Linked DNA regions of Homo sapiens: region 2 is linked to region 1. Evidence: promoter capture Hi-C in 16 types of primary human blood cells and fetal thymus (Javierre and others, 2016). All regions are on one chromosome and are shown on one strand. The core of a region is centred on a gene start or on the middle of the fragment in contact, and the rest is flanking DNA. Distances in the headings are between cores, read along the strand shown. Region 1 holds the start of NCAM1 (neural cell adhesion molecule 1). Region 2 overlaps TTC12-DT (TTC12 divergent transcript).

The links. The method cuts DNA at HindIII sites, captures the fragments that hold promoters and counts their contacts. A CHiCAGO score of 5 or more calls a contact.
Region 2: a fragment that was not itself captured here is called in contact with the fragment with the promoter of NCAM1 in region 1 in 1 of 17 cell types (M1 macrophages); the score reaches 5.6 in M1 macrophages.

The regions. Positions count from the first base shown.
Region 1 is chr11:112,957,328-112,964,956 of GRCh38, reverse strand. NCAM1 (neural cell adhesion molecule 1) reads right to left here and starts at 3,537. Exons shown (of 20, transcript NM_181351.5): 1 at 3,293-3,537. The coding sequence starts at 3,344. NCAM1-AS2 (NCAM1 antisense RNA 2) reads left to right here and starts at 1,497. Exons shown (of 3, transcript NR_120563.1): 1 at 1,497-1,747; 2 at 3,481-3,590; 3 at 4,106-5,678. RefSeq lists an enhancer at 2,817-3,594. The HindIII fragment of the contact is 5,394 bases long and covers 1-5,387 here.
Region 2 is chr11:113,281,243-113,288,871 of GRCh38, reverse strand. TTC12-DT (TTC12 divergent transcript) reads left to right here. Exons shown (of 5, transcript NR_199709.1): 2 at 4,282-6,835. Among named protein-coding and RNA genes, the nearest start is that of NCAM1-AS1, 11 kb to the right of the region's middle. The HindIII fragment of the contact is 5,832 bases long and covers 1-5,624 here.

The DNA.
Region 1 (7,629 bases), core at 2,288-4,787:
GTTAGCAGATCTTTAAGACCTTTATAGAGGGAATAGTAACTCAAAAACTTACATAAATCATAGCCCACACGTCTACAATGTCTGGATTATATTCCCTGTTTTTAATAACTCTGTTGGATTTAAAACAAATTATCAGTTATTAATATTTCTAAATATGCTAGTATTTATTGAAAGAAAATAATCTTTCTAGGGTTTGGTTAGAGTTGTGAAAGGTTTTCCACATTCTTATATAGCCTTTATTACATTCAGTGAAATTCTGTTTAAAAACACACATTCTCAGTCTTCAAATGAAAATCAACAAAAATATATGGCTCACTATAACTGTGCTCACAGTCAACTTTGTGGAAGCGCACCTTAATTTGCTTAGTGAGAGATATTATATATACTACTTGATTTCAATGTTAGCTTTTGTAAAGTAGCTCTTTGTTCTTAACCGATGGTATCTTGTTAGAAACCCAGTCCTATCCATTCCTTGACTCTTGCAAGTTTAACTGGCAGAAGACTGCAAAATTATCAAGTAAACATGTGACTTAACCATTCCAGATCGTTCAAGCGAACAATTCTTCAAAACATCCAAAATTTATACTAGAATAAACTCAAATTTACTATGCAATTGCACAACCTTTCATTGTATTTCTAAAGAGCAGAGGACACAGAAAGAGGAGAGGGGCAGCCCATCGGACTCACTTGACGTATTAAGGTTAGCTTGCCTTATATGTAAATTTTCATATGCACCCAGCCGAGCACACAAACTCAGTTACCACTGCCCTGGACATGCTACATTTGAGTCCAAAAAAAAAACAAAAAAAAAAAAAACAAAAAAAAAACCTCAGATATATATACATATGTATATATACTTGTTGTTATGTTTTCATTTTCATTCTAACCCTTTGACTTGAATTCTTTGATTTTTTTAAAAAAAAACTATGGTACAAAAGACATTTTAATGGGAAATTATTTCTCTTTGGAAAACCATTCAACTTCTTTCTTTTGTTAAGCAACCTTGTATGTGTTTCACGTTCTGCCTTCTTCCCATCCTCAAGGTACCGGGCCAGGAAAGAGGTCGCTTTCATTCCAGGGAACACTGGTTAGAATGCCTCCCCTGCCTGGGCATCCAGGAACATCCCAGTGGGAATTCCTGGGCCTGCAACTTCCACGGGATCCAAATACTGATGACTGTACCCATCACGATGATGGAAAGGACCGCCAGGCGATCCCCCAAAAGGCCCACCAAATATCCGGGCTCCATTGTCACGCTCCCACCCGGGGGCGAGGATGTCTCAAAAACACCCCCCTTCCCCCGCCCCATGTGGACAGGTCGCGTCGCGGCACCCACGGGCACCGCGGAAAGGGGCATAACCGGGGTGGCCCCCGCCCAGGTGGCAGCGGAGACCCAGGGCCAGGCGGACTAGGCTTGGTCCCCACCCCTCCTCTCCGGGCCCTGCCACGGCCCCGCCCCGCCGTCAGTAGAGCCCCCGGCCCGCGGTCGGCCGGTCAGCGCACGCGCGTAGGTGTGCCTGCCAGGATGCCCTCCCCGGCGACGCGCTCAGGCCCGGATTCCGCGGCGCGAGAGTGAGCGCTGGCGGGGGCGGTGGGATGCTCCAAGTCGGCGTGAAAGAGGCGAGAGTGGGCGAGCACGGGCGGCCGGACCAGGAGCACTCCCGGTGACCACCTAGTCTCCATTTTATTTCCTCGGAAACTGCCGGGCAGGCGGGGGACCGGCCGCAGGGCGGGGTTTCTCTTGGCGGTGAGTGAGCGAGACCGTTAGGCTGAAGCACCGGGAGACTGTCCTGGCAGCTCCTGGCCGCCACCCGCGCCGCAATAAAAGCCTCTCGCGGCTTCCCGCCCAGCCAGCTTCGCACTGATTGGTCGCCGTGGGAGGGACCCGAGTTGGCTGGAGGCGGCGGCCGAGCGCTGCTCTTGTGCCGCCCGCGGAGGGGGCGCACTGGGTGCTCCCTGGCCCGCCCCGTGCGCTCCCCAACCGGGGGTCGGCCGTCCAGGGCAGGTACAACGGTACCTGGAGCTGCGACCGCGACACACAGCCCCTCCGCCCGGCTTTCCTCGATCGCTTCCCAGCACACGCCCCCCGCCCAGAATGTCCGCCCAACCCACCCAGCTCTCTGCGGCCCCTGCTTTTCTTCCTTCCCTCCCGTCCATCAGAGCCAAAGCGCAAATCCTTGGGTGGAGGTGGGGGGATGACAGCTGGAGGGGAGGGTGGGCACGCACAGAAGAATTTTCCAGGGAGGCCGGGATGGAAATAGCCAAAATGAAATGCACCTCCCTGCACACTGCCGAGGTTCTCTGGGCGGCGGCGCAACCCCCGCCACCCGCGGCAGCATCACTACTGTCTTCCTCCCAGCTCCCTATTGTTCACACTTTGCCAGGATCGGGAACCTCGCCCAAAGAAAGGAGACAGGGCGAGGTGTTTCGGGCGGCTACCTGCCATTCTTCTCCCGCCCCGTGCAACACTGGGCACGCGGCGCGTGTAAAGACACACGCGCGCACACGCGCGCGCACACACCAGGCAGCCCCAATCACGCCCTCCTCGCCCTCCGCCCCTCCGCACTTCCTCCTGTCAAAACGCGGCGCTCGACCCTCCCATCCTTCAGTGCTCGCGGCCGAGGGTAGGCTTTGCAACTAACCAGCAATTTGGCAAATGAAAAACTAACGTCATGTCGACTGGGGTGCAACAACGGTCACACCAACAACAACGGCCGTGCGATTCTGCCCATTTTGCCCCATTTTGCAAACCGTTATTCTTCTGGGGCGGGGGAAGCAAAGCAGCGATCCTGACTTTATTAGACCCAGGAATATAACGATCTGGGGCGGCTGCCCTAGCCTTATTGTTCACTCTTCCCGGAGCCGGGGCTGACAAGCCACTTCCCCCTCGGAATCCGAGCCCGTGCGGCGGCACCACCCGAGCCGCGACCTCCCCCGCCCCGCCGCCCGCCTTTGGGGAAGGAGCGCTGCCCATCACCAGCGCGGCCGCTGAGTCCCCAGGAGCCGGCCGGCTCTGCTCCCACCGCCGCGGGCGCACAAAGTGGGAAGGGCGGACGCGCCGGAGGGGCGCCGGGCGCTGGCGGCTCGGGGAGGCAGCCCCGTGCAGCGCAGCCCTGGAGGGAGCGGGGTTCGGCTGGGCAGCAAGGGCGACGCGCTCCTTTCACAGCTAAACGAAAATGACCAGCCTTAGCAGTCCACGTAAAACCACCCAAAATAATAGCGTTCCTCCTAGGAGTAGGAGGAAGGGGTAATTAGCAAACCAGATTGAGAATTAAAAAAAAAAAAAATGTACCTGCAGTTCCCAGGAAAAACAAAGTCCAGATGAGATCCTTAGTTTGCAGCATTGTAATCTGCTGGCTGGGAGGGATGTTCTTGCCGCGGTAAATTCTGTGCCCCCCCCCCTGCAGCGAGTGTGGACGGCGGCTGAGCGACAGACCTAGGGGCAGACAATTGCCAGGCTGAGTATGATTATTTTTGCAGAATTGTTTCCTGCCAGCGGCAGCCGAGCTGCGTTCACGCGCTGATCGGAGAATGAGTGACAGTCCCAGCCTCAGCACACTCGCAACTCGGAGATCCTTGCGCTGGCCCGGGTTCGTTTTGATGGAACTGGGATGGGAGCGAGGAGCGGGGGGCGGGGGTGAGAACCTCACTGTGTCCTTCCACCACGCCGGCCACAAATAGTGCCGAACATCAAGGAGGTAAGAGAGACAGGGGAGGCAGATGCGGAAGCCTGCAAAACGCGGCCTGGAGCTTTTGGGGGAGCCGGGCTCTTTCACACGCAGTCTCCCTGGGAGAGCTGGGATTTCTTTTCACACTTCTACCCTACGCCTTCGCAGGCGCTCCTGCTACCCAGCCTTCCTTAATCAGCAGTTTGCATATTTTGATAACTAGTAAATAATAAAAGCAAAATTTTAGATTTGGTTAGGTAAAGTTGTCAAATCCCTCCATTTCGATTCTAAGATCCTTGCAACACAAGGATAGCCCAGGACTTTAAGTGCGGGAAATTAGAACTTTGGAGAGGGATGGGGGTTGCCGTTGCTGGGTGTTGTTTGGATATTGTTTGTTTGTTTGTTTTATCCTAACTGTGAAGTTTGCTCTCCCACAGAGAGACATACAACACCCTTCAGCAGATCCCCTGGGAAGGAGGTGGGAAGAGACTTAAGTTAGAAGAAAACTCCGATGTTTGGAAGAGATTTCCAGAAATAACCCGAAGAAAATGTTTTCCTGTTTATAAATTCTGAAATCTGTGGTCTCTTTATTAAAATAGCCAGGCTTTTATATAGGTATTATGATATAGAAGCGTCATTAAATAATATTTTCTTACATGGGGACGTGACCTTAATTCTTAAAGATATTAATGTATAATATTACTGAGGTACCAACACAATAGGCTTTAATTAAAATTCCACCCGTGTTTTCAAAAGTAGGGGGTGGAGAAAGCGGGGTGAAAAGAATCATGTCTCAGCACCTGAAGGCTTGGGTATGTAAGGAACTAATGTGAGAAAGGTGTTCTAGATGTCAGGTTAACCCATTAGCCTAGAACACTGAAACCCTCTAACAGAGGAAGTCTGCATAAGTTCAAAGGCATTAAAGCACTAATGTTACCGGGTACTCCGTTTTTCTTCAAAGGTCGGCCTCCCCACTCCTGTAGCAGGTTTTTTGTTTTGTTTTGTTTTGTTTTGTTTCTGTTTTGTTTTTTTGAGATGGAGCCTCGCTCTGTCGCCCAGGCTGCAGTGCAGTGGCGCCATCTCTGCTCACTGCAACCTCTGCTCCCGGTTCAAGCGATTCTGCTGCCTCAGCCTCCTGAGTAGCTGGGATTACAGGCGCGCGCCACCACGCCCAGCTAATTTTTGTATTTTTAGTAGAGACGGTGTTTCACCATGTTGGTCAGGCCGGTCTCGAACTCCTGACCTCGTGATCTGCCCACCTCAGCCTCCCAAAGTGCTAGGATTACAGCCGTGAGCTACCGCACCCAGCCGCTGTAGCAGTTTTTAAAAGTCCATCCTCTACTGTCAGGACATCCATCCTTATTGGACAGGCCCCATCTCTTCCCCACTTTCCTCCTCTATAATAGACCAAGTGGGCCACACCAGTACAGTGTAATTAGCTTGGACCCCTGAAAAGTATTTCTTCCCCCAAGTAAATCTTCCACAACGTTTACTTTGGGCTATTTCTCTCATTCCAAGTATAAACAATTCAAAAGTACAGAAAAGTAGAAAGAACTAAAAATAACCCCAAATCCCACAGATTCCAGAGATACTCATAGATTTTGTCTTCTGTATGTGCATATGATTTTTATAATTGACATATTATAGTAGCAATTTGAATCCTGCTGATTTTGCCTAACATCAGTATAAGCATTTATTCCTCTGGATCATTAAAAAGCTTTTCTAGATATTTTTATAGCTATGTAATATTTCTTCATATGGATGATTTTGCAATGGTTTCCCCATTTTTGCATATTTATATTGTTTGTGGAGTTTGATAATATAAATAAGGCTTTTTTGAACATCTTTCAACAAATATTTGCGGAGCAACCACTGGGTTTAGCCCTGTGCTAGATGCAGTGAATTATATACGTCTTTTTTTAATGGTTGCTGTATTTAAGTGTCTTTGATTTCAGACTTCTGCTTCTAACATCTAAAATCACCACATTAAATATTACAGATTTATGTAAATGAATGTTATCAGACTCTTTCCTTAAAAAAGAGGTTTTGATGGTGAGGAAAGATAGAGAGAACAGGCAGGGGGTAGAGTGGGGAGAGTGAAGGTTGGGGCCCCCAAAATAAAAATTTTTCCAATTTTGCCCCTAAGAGTGAGAGACACATTCTTCCCTGCAAACCTCCCTCCTTATAGTCCTGTCAGTAGAATTAAAAGACTCCTCACTATTTTTCTCCCCAAATGTCCCTATTTTTAGCTTTTCAATGTAGGCAAGTGTGGAAATCCAATCTCACTTGAGTATGACTGAATTTCTTTTTTTTCCCTCTCTCTCTCCAGCCCCTCCCTACCCCGTGTGGTTGTTGATCTCTGTTGTAATGATTCATTCTAGAATGCTGCCCCAGTCATTCCAGTCCACACTCCCAGTATCACTCCCAAATTCTTTTAACAGGATATGTCACTTGTCTCCAATTCTGTATATCTCCGCTAGTCGGTGCCTACATCTGTGAGCTCTGTTGCGTTTCAATCCCTTCCTGATCCTCATTTTAAAATGGACAAAACTGTGGCCCTCACTGGACCTCTCTCCCCAGAGAGAGGCCCAGGCTGTCAGGCACACATTAATGAGCATCTACAAAGTGAACATCCATGGGATTGAGGCAGAGGAAGGAGACTCCAGACTGTGCTTTAGAGAGAAAGTTCTTTAGAGAGGAAGCAGAGAATGGTCCAAGAAGACAGCCATGGCAAGGAGACAAGCTAGGAGGCCATGATAGCTCTGGATAGGGTGACAGGGACTAATTAAGAAAGCGACAGTGGGAAAGGAGGCAAAAAGGAGCCCAGATTTGCAATTCCAAGATAAGATAAGAACAGGTGGACCTGGGTATGTTGTGAAGATGGAAGTATGAGGCAGAGGAAGAAATCCAAGTTCCTTTCATTCATTCAACAAATATTTATGGATTCTCAACTAAGTGCCTGGCACTGCTCTGGACACTGGGGATGTAGCCGTGGACAAAGTAGAGCCTTTGCCCTCATGGGATTTCCTTCTTATGGGGGAAGACAGAGAATAAATCCTTAAACATTTAGTAGTGTACAGATGGTGATAAGTGCTAAGGAAAGCAATAAGGAGAGATAAGGGGACAGAGAGTCTGGGGCGGAGAGGGATTACCATTTTGTTTAGTGGAGCTATACGGGTGTATGTGATACAGATCTTGAGAAAGTGACAACCGCTAAGGGTCCAGTGTGGGCAATTGAATAGTTGCTGGTAACATTGACAGGGAGCAGAAGAAGAGGGGCAGATTCAGACCAGGTGATAAGCAAAGAAGCAATGATGTCAGCTCTGCACATGCTAAGTCTGAGATGTTTCAGAGACATCCAAGTGGAAATGTGTGGAAGACAGACAGAGAGGGCCCAGAGAACATCAATGTTTAAGGTACAGGCAGAAGGACTTATCAATGAAATACTGAAAAACAGACAGCTAGAAAGAAAATTGAAACATGACAATGTCACAAAACCTAAAGAAGAAAGCTTTGAGGTGGTCAAAAAAGAGGAAGATTTAAAAGAATTTCCTGAATTTGACCATTGGAAAGTCCTTAGTGGCCCCTGGGGGAACAGTATTCATGGAATGGAGGGAAAAGGAGACATCATGGTCCCAGAAATGAAAGGGAGGGGAGGAGAGAGAAGCCAGGGGTGTGGACTACTCTCTCCAGCAGTGTGATGTTGAAGGAGTAGTGGGATAATGGCAGGGAGGCAAGCTTGTGGGAGAAGGAGGCTTAAAAGACAGTTTTCTTTTCTTCTCTTTTAATGTGAGGACTTTATTATCAGGTTATAAAGTAAGTTAAATTGGTGTTAACTCTTGCTCAGCACCACCAAGACCTTATGCACTAGCTTGACTTACACAACTTGAAAAATGAACTTGGAATAGTGCCCTAATTTAGAGCTTCTTTCCTATTGTTATTGACAATGGAGACCCCAGGT
Region 2 (7,629 bases), core at 1,459-3,958, 320 kb before region 1:
TAGAGATGAAGCAAGTATACTCAGAGACTTTAAGTACTTTGCCTATGGTCACACAACTTGGAAGCACCAGAGCTTAGATTCCAAAGCAAGATATGTTGCTTTTTGGAGCCTATGATCTTTCCAATGTGCTGGACCTTGAGTTCCATCAGGACAGGGATGTTGTCTATCGTATTCATCACTGCACCTCCATTACTCAGCGCATATGTGCCGACATAGTAGGTGCTCAGTAAACATTTCACCTCAGTAAATACTGAACTAATGAGTAACTAAAAATGCCACAATCTCTTATCTTGGAGTGTGTTTGGACTTGGGTCTTCCCTGGGGGCAAGATGGGGGTAAAGGGCAGGTAGGCTTTGCCACTTGAAAGTCTCCCCTCCCTCTTGAGGCCCCCCTGCTCCTTGGTACACCATGTCCTGCACGCTCCAGCACTTCTGTGCATTCTGACCTTTGCCAGCTCAGCTCACTGCCCGTACTTGGAAGGTGACCTGGAACAATGGCTGTGATTGTGTTGGCTGTTTGCTTCCTCTGCCTTCAGTGGTCCAGGTCTCGGTGGGAGATCAGGGCTGTTGCTATCAAAGCCATCTAGAATCTGAACAGGGTCGTCTGTGCATTGATGCCTCAGTCTCCTCTCCCCAGGCCTGAAGAGCGGCTGCCTGGCCTCTGCTTAAGGGCACTGACTGTCCACTTTTAGAGCCACTCCAAGAAACAGAATGGTCTGTTTTTCGTGTGTATAAAACAGACTTCCCTACAATGTTTGTTCTACTTGAGCCCTCAGGAGTATTAAATATTAAGTCCACCCTCTTTTCTAAACAACAGTCTTTGTATACATGAAGACAGCTGTTCAAAGTGTATGTTTTTCCTCCCACCCTCCCATCTGCTTTCACGGTTTCTTCCCCAAGCTCAACATACTCAACTCCTCTACATGCTCCTCATCAGACATGGCTATGAGTTCCTTCAGCCTCCAGTGCTTCTGCCCTGGACGGGCCCCCTGGCCATCACTTCTCCTTGGGTATAGCATGGGACCTGGAGGCTACACCACAGCAGGGCAGAGCACCACAGCAGGGCTACACCACACCAATGCTGGCTTATACATTGCTCCCTATGGAGACTTCATGACTGGGTTCTAATCCTGTCTCTGCCTCTTCCTAGCTGTGTGACTCTCAGCAAATGATCGAACCTCTCTTGCCACGGTTTCTTCATCTGTAAGATGGGGTTAATAATAGTATCTACTCAGAATTGTTCTAAGTGCTAAATGAATAAATATTTGTGGAGTGCTTAAAGCATGGCCAGACGTAGTGTTATAGAAGTGTTACACATAAATAAATCAAACTGTCAGTTTCAGTATCACAAGTATTTTTGACCATCTGCAATGCATCATCTCTCATATTGAGTTTATAGTCCATTTAGACCCCAGTCTTTTATTTTTCTATTTCAAATATTCTCTGTTGCTGAGCCCCATTGTCTTCAGCGTGCACTTTTCGTGGTTGGATTTTTTGAGAGTGTGCAGGAGTTTCCATCTGTCCCTGTGGCATTACATCATCTCAGCTGCTGTTTCCCCACACAGCTGAGCTGAGCTCCTTTGGGGTGCTAACTGCCGTCCAGCATGTGTGGTGAAGTGTGCTGGGTTTTGGGAATTGTCTTGCCAACATCCAGACACATGGCTGTGTCTACAGCATTTCCTGTCTGTCTACATGGAACCGCAGAAACTCCTGAAAGAGTTTCCCCAGCCTCAGTTGGATGGTGCTAGGACCTCAGGCCAGGCGTTTCATGGTGGAGATGTTCCCCAGCCGCACACCTGCCAGTTTCTCTATGTGCGGTCTAAGGACCACATGCAATGGAATCTTCCTGCCCCAGACCCAAGTCATCACACTTGTGGTATGGCTTCCAGGTCCCATGCCATAGCCAAGGTATGGATCTCTGGGGCTGGAGTCCATGAATGTGCAGTTTAAACAGTGCCTCGGGAGACTCAGAAGGGTGATGTAGGGGATGATGGAGGAGCTTGGCCAAGTGTGGTGGGGAGGAGAGTTGCTGCTGCATCCCAGCCTGGGTCTGCCCATGACAGACCCTCTCCATGTCTCAGAGGACGGGCTTTCTTTCCTCCTTCAGCATCAGGACATGGACTACAGCAGGGCTTGTGGGCTAGATTCCTGCGCTCCAAACTGAGGCTCCCTAGGGAAGATCCAACACCTGTTGGTGTGAGCGATCTTCCAAGCCTACTTCCTCATGCTCACAGCCACCTTTCCAACAGCCTGTGTATGACCATCCCCATGGGAAGCACTCTAAACAGACCCCTGTGGGTTATCATGTTTTGAGCTGGGGTTGGAAGCTCAGTTTCAGGAAGGAGAAACAGCACAATGCTCTCCCTGGTCACTGACACCTAGACCTGGGGACCAGTAGACCCTTCCCAGATCACACTTGGCCTCCTCTTTGCTCTTTCTCAGTCTCTCAACCCAGAGGTTTTCCCCCTTAGGGAGGAGACTCCAAGCAAGGAGGCTCCAAGGCTTTGCATGGTCAGCCTTGGGCCTCAGATAACCACAGCTTTGGGACACGCAGGTAGACCCAATAACAATAATCCTGCCTTTCAAGGTCCTCTAACTCAAGTCTTCCCAGCTCTTCCCCATCGTGAAGGTGCTGCTCACTGACTGGACATTGCCACCAGCCTGGAGGAAGGAGGAGGTGGTGACCCATGACCAGGGGCTGGGCAGGCAGAGCAGAGAACCTCTCTAGGCACATGTGAGCCTTGTGGGTAGAGGTGTGGACTTCCTCCAGGGTACTGGACAGTGGGCACTGCTGTGTGGCTGTCAAAGGCATCTTCTTGGCCAGCTGTAGGCCCTGTTTGCGCACACACAGATGAACATGGGCAGGTAACCATGGCTGGTATGCACGTGTAATCATTTCACTCATGCACTCATTCACTCTGTCATTCATGAGACTGACAAATATCAAGTTCTGGCTTTGTAGCAGGTGCTGTATGTGGTGCCGGGATAAAGTAGTAATGAAGACAGACACAGAACTTGCCCTGGAGGAGTTCAGAGATCAGTGAGAAAGAGAAACAAATCAGAGACTAAACAAAGCATGAGGTCTTAGGATATGTTAAAAATATTTACAGACTCTATTCTGTGAACACCAGCCATAGTGTTGGAGCAAAGCCCTGGAGATCCTCTCTGGGCCAGGTAGAGCCACCTACAAATTCCTTTGTGAGGGGCTGGGGTGACAGCAGCTACTTTTAACAGCAAAGAAGCATTGCAATATTTTAATAACCTGATATGACCAAACCAGCACGGGCCAGCTGTATAATTGGCCCTCAACAGAACATAAAACAGCAGAATGCAAGCTGGATCAGGTGTCAGGAAAGGCATACCTGAGCCTTTGAACTCAGATATCTGAACTAAGACCTAACGATGGAGTAAAAGTCAAGGATTCGTTGCAGGCATTGGCGGGTGCTAGAGAGACTTCCAGAGAAAACAAGAAGTGTTTGCACCTGTGGAAACACAGAGATGAGAAAGCACATGGCATAGCCAAGAAAATACCATCATTTCACTATATATGGCATGTAGCATGTGAAGAGAGAATAGTGTGAGATGGGCTTGGAGAGGTCATTAAGGCATCTCATCGGCAACATTAAGAGGGTTGAGGATGAGATAGACCCTAATTTGATGGAGATTAAATTTCTACCACTGCATAGAATGACAGATTGAAGGAGAAGTTAAGTTCAATAGTAGAAAAAGCATGCACTTCATATTTATTGAGAGTCTTACCTACCACACGTTTGAAGAGAAGTAGCCAGCAGAGAAGGTCTTTAAGTACTTGGAACACAAGCTCCCTCATGATCTTAGGTCTTGGCTTAAATGCCACCTCCTCAGAGAAGTCTTCCCTAATTGTCCCATGTAAAATGGCAGCTCCTCCTCATGAGTTACCTCTTTGCCTCATATGTGCCTGTCTCTTTGCAGCACTTGTCATCATTGGCTTATTGTATATAGTTATTTAGAACGTAGGATCTATGAGGGTGATCTTTCTTTCCTCAGCACCTAGAACAGCTTTGGCCTTGGCAGGTGCTCAATAAACATTGGAAGGGATATTGAATGGATGAGAAAGACCCCATTGAAGTAGAACACAAAGGCCAGGGCCCAGGGAAAGGGATTGCTGTAGAAAGGGAGAGATACTGCTTCTGTTATAACAGGGGCAGAGGAGGAAGGGGCGACCTGAACGCAGGTAGGTGTGTAGATTTGGTGTTGGGAATGGAGGTCGTTCCTTTCTGATGGCTCCTCTTTTCTTTTACAGGAAGGAAGCAAGACTGGTAGCTGAGATGAAAGAGGTGGTGGAGGAATGAATTGGTTTGGAAAAGTGAAGACATTTTTGTAGAGGAGAACTGAATGAGTTGCTGACAAATGTCAGTAGGACTGCCAGGCAGTGCTGAGGACCTTGTTGAGAGTGACCTTCAATATTGCTAATAATGAGCCTGGTCATGTGGTTTTTCTCAAATAGCATCCAGCTGACCAGGTGTAACTAAAGAGGTGGCAGCCAGGAGATTTTCCAGGGCTAGAGTTCTACAAGACAGAGGCAATGTGAGAGCATCAAGGCAAGGAAGTTTCTGATATCATTGACTGTGTGGCTGCCATGCTAGACCTGGGAATTGAGGCTGGATATGGACGGAGGTGAAGGGAGGATGTGGCAAATAGAGGAAAATCTAGGAGTCAATAACTAGGCAATGACAAAGAACTGATGTATGAAACTAGTTGGGTGAGTGAGCTAGATGGATCCAAGGGAGTGTTGGAGAGTGGGGAATCTGGACTCTGGACTCTGACTTAGGTGAATGGCATGATCAGCCCAGAGTTTGACCAAGAGCAAAAGTGGCTTACGTGGAGTGAAGAGGAAGGTCATTGGAGATGAGGAGGTCAAACTGAGGGGCCTTTGTGTTGGAGGAATTGCCCATATAATGTACTGAAGTCACTGAGGATGATGGTGGACCTTCAGGAGAGAGGAGGATCATGGGCTAAAGATTAAAGTCTTCACGAGTAAGTGCATATTCAGGATTCTGCACTTGGCATTGGCAGCCTAGGGGACTCAATGGCATGATCCTTGGTGGAACATCGGCCTGACAACAAAGTGAGGGAATGATAGTCTGGAGGTGACAATAAGGGGCAAGTAAGACACAGCCCCTGTGCCCAGATCCTAGGGCACTCAGGGTGCAGAATAAGTAGCAGTGTCCAGGAATCAGTGTCTGGAGAAGAGGAGAACCAAGTAAGGAAAGGTGATGCAAACACATTGACAGGGAAGGTGAAAGCATAGAGAAGTTTGTTGATCGTCTTATGGGAATCCCAGAACCTGGCAGAATAATTTAGGAGGGAGGAGAGGAATGGAACTGAGCTTTCTCTGCCTGGATGTACCTCTACCAGTTTTCCATCCCTCAGAATCTTTTATTACATGACCACATCTAATAGGGAAAGCAGCCATGTTCTCACCCTACCTTTCTTTCCTTAGCATTATTTGAGAACAAGTCATATTGGTAGGGAGATGGCAAAAATAAATAAACCCTAATGCTTAGTTCTGCATAGAAGCTACTCCATGGTGATTGCCTAGCACAGAGGTGCATGCTGCCACACTCCACGGAGCTTCTACAAGCTTCCAGGAATATTCAGTGAATCAACAGCATCATGCAAAGTACTGGACATGTGTTGCCCTGCCTGGGAGAACATTTTCCTGAATAGCATGCCAAGCTCTAGCCTTGTCTCCCTAAGAATCTCTGCTGCCACCACTACTGGTCCCACATCCCACGACCATCATCCTGCTCCTCTCAAGACCATGTGACCCCATTCCCAAGAGTTCCAGTGCTCAGCCAGCAACCCCTGACTTACCCTCTGAGATGACAGCACATATAGCTCCACGAAAATGTGTCAGGAACATGAGAGGCCCCATCCCTCCCTGGGTCTCTGGTCAGAGGAAATGCCTGTGCTTCATTTACCATGATCTAGCCTGGACCCAGGCAACTGAGCTCTGCTTAGAGAATGCCATTAAAGCTACTGTAAATGGTGTTCATCTTTAAAATATAGCCAAACATGTTTAACAATTCCAGGCATGGAAGCAAAATGAAACATAATTCGCGTGAGCTCAGGGAGGTGGGAGAGAATGTGGATCATTTTAGTACCCACAAGTAGTTCAGCAGGGCTGGAGCATATGTAGAAGTTTTAGGAGTGCTAGAACTGGGGCTGGAGGAGTAAGCAAGACCTGACCAAGATGGGTTGTGTTAGTCTTGATAAAAAGCTTGCATTCTCTCCTGAGGGTCTTTAGAAGCCATTGAAGATCTTAATGGGGGCAGCCAGAGATGGGATGAGATGCCCATTCTGCACAGGTCATTCTGTCCAGAGTGAGGGCAGTGGATTGGAGGCCATCAGGTACAATCTAATGCAGCCTCCCTTCATCTAGCTTCTACCATCCAAGCTCAGCTTATATGAGACCTTCACCTGGAGGGATGCGTAGGTGTCTTGCTTTCACTGGTAATGTTAGCGTGACTCTCCACCCCAACACTCAGAGGCACCCTACTCTGTCTGCCCCAGTAGCACCAGGGTTAAATCAGATGAAGGGGGTATGAGGGTCTGGAAAGCAATGGGGGACACTCGACAGAGTCGCGGTGATCATGGAAACACCCAGGGCAACAAGGATCCCAGGAAATCTTTTTCTAGCTACAAGACAAATTTATTTTCTAGACTCCAGAGTATACCCATGCCTTCCAGGCAACAGGACAGGTAGACACAAGTTCTCTTAAGGGATTGGGAAGAGGAGGCCACCCTGGAAAGGAGATACCAAGTCACTGCCTCTCCTGACCTTGTCCTCCAAGGTGAGGCTGCAAATGGTGTAGTAGGAATTTCTGACAATTCTCCTTGAGACGGAGCTGCCTGTGCATTTTCCTTCCCAGGTCCCCTGCTTAGTTCTTTTCTCTCTTTAATATATATACTTGGAGATATCACATGGTGATCACCAAGTCCCAGAGTTTGAAGTACAAGCACTATGTGGACAGCTCCTACGTGAATCTCCAGTCTGGACCTCTCAAACTTTAGCCTACGCAAAATCTCTGCTCAGGTGTTCACAGGCATCCCAGACTTCAAGTATCCTGAGACTAATGTTCCATCGTCCAAATAATCTGCTTCTCCTGCACTCCTTTTCCAAAGTAAATGGCAACTCCATCCTTTCAAATGTGTAGATTCAAAATCTGAAAGTCATCAGTGATTCCTCTCTCAAACCACACATCCAATCTATTATCCAATCTTGCTGGCTTTACCTTTAGTACATGTCCAGAGCTGGCCACTGCTCAGCCTTCCACCAGCCGCAGCTTGCTGCAAGCACATCATCCTGTCCCCTCTGGATCATCGCCTCCTCACTGGTATCCTTACATTTGCTCTTGCCCTCCTGTGATCTGTTATCCACCCAGCAGCCAGAGTGCTCATTTTAATACTCAAGTCATGTCAGGCTTCTGGCAAAAACATCCCTTGGCTTTCCATCCCACTTGAAGAAAAGGCAAAATTCTAACAACAGTCTACAGATCCTGTGCAATCTAGCTCATAGATACTTCTGAGTCATTTCCTATCTCTTTACTCTCTGCCCCACCCCATCATTTGCTTTCTGTTCCAGCCA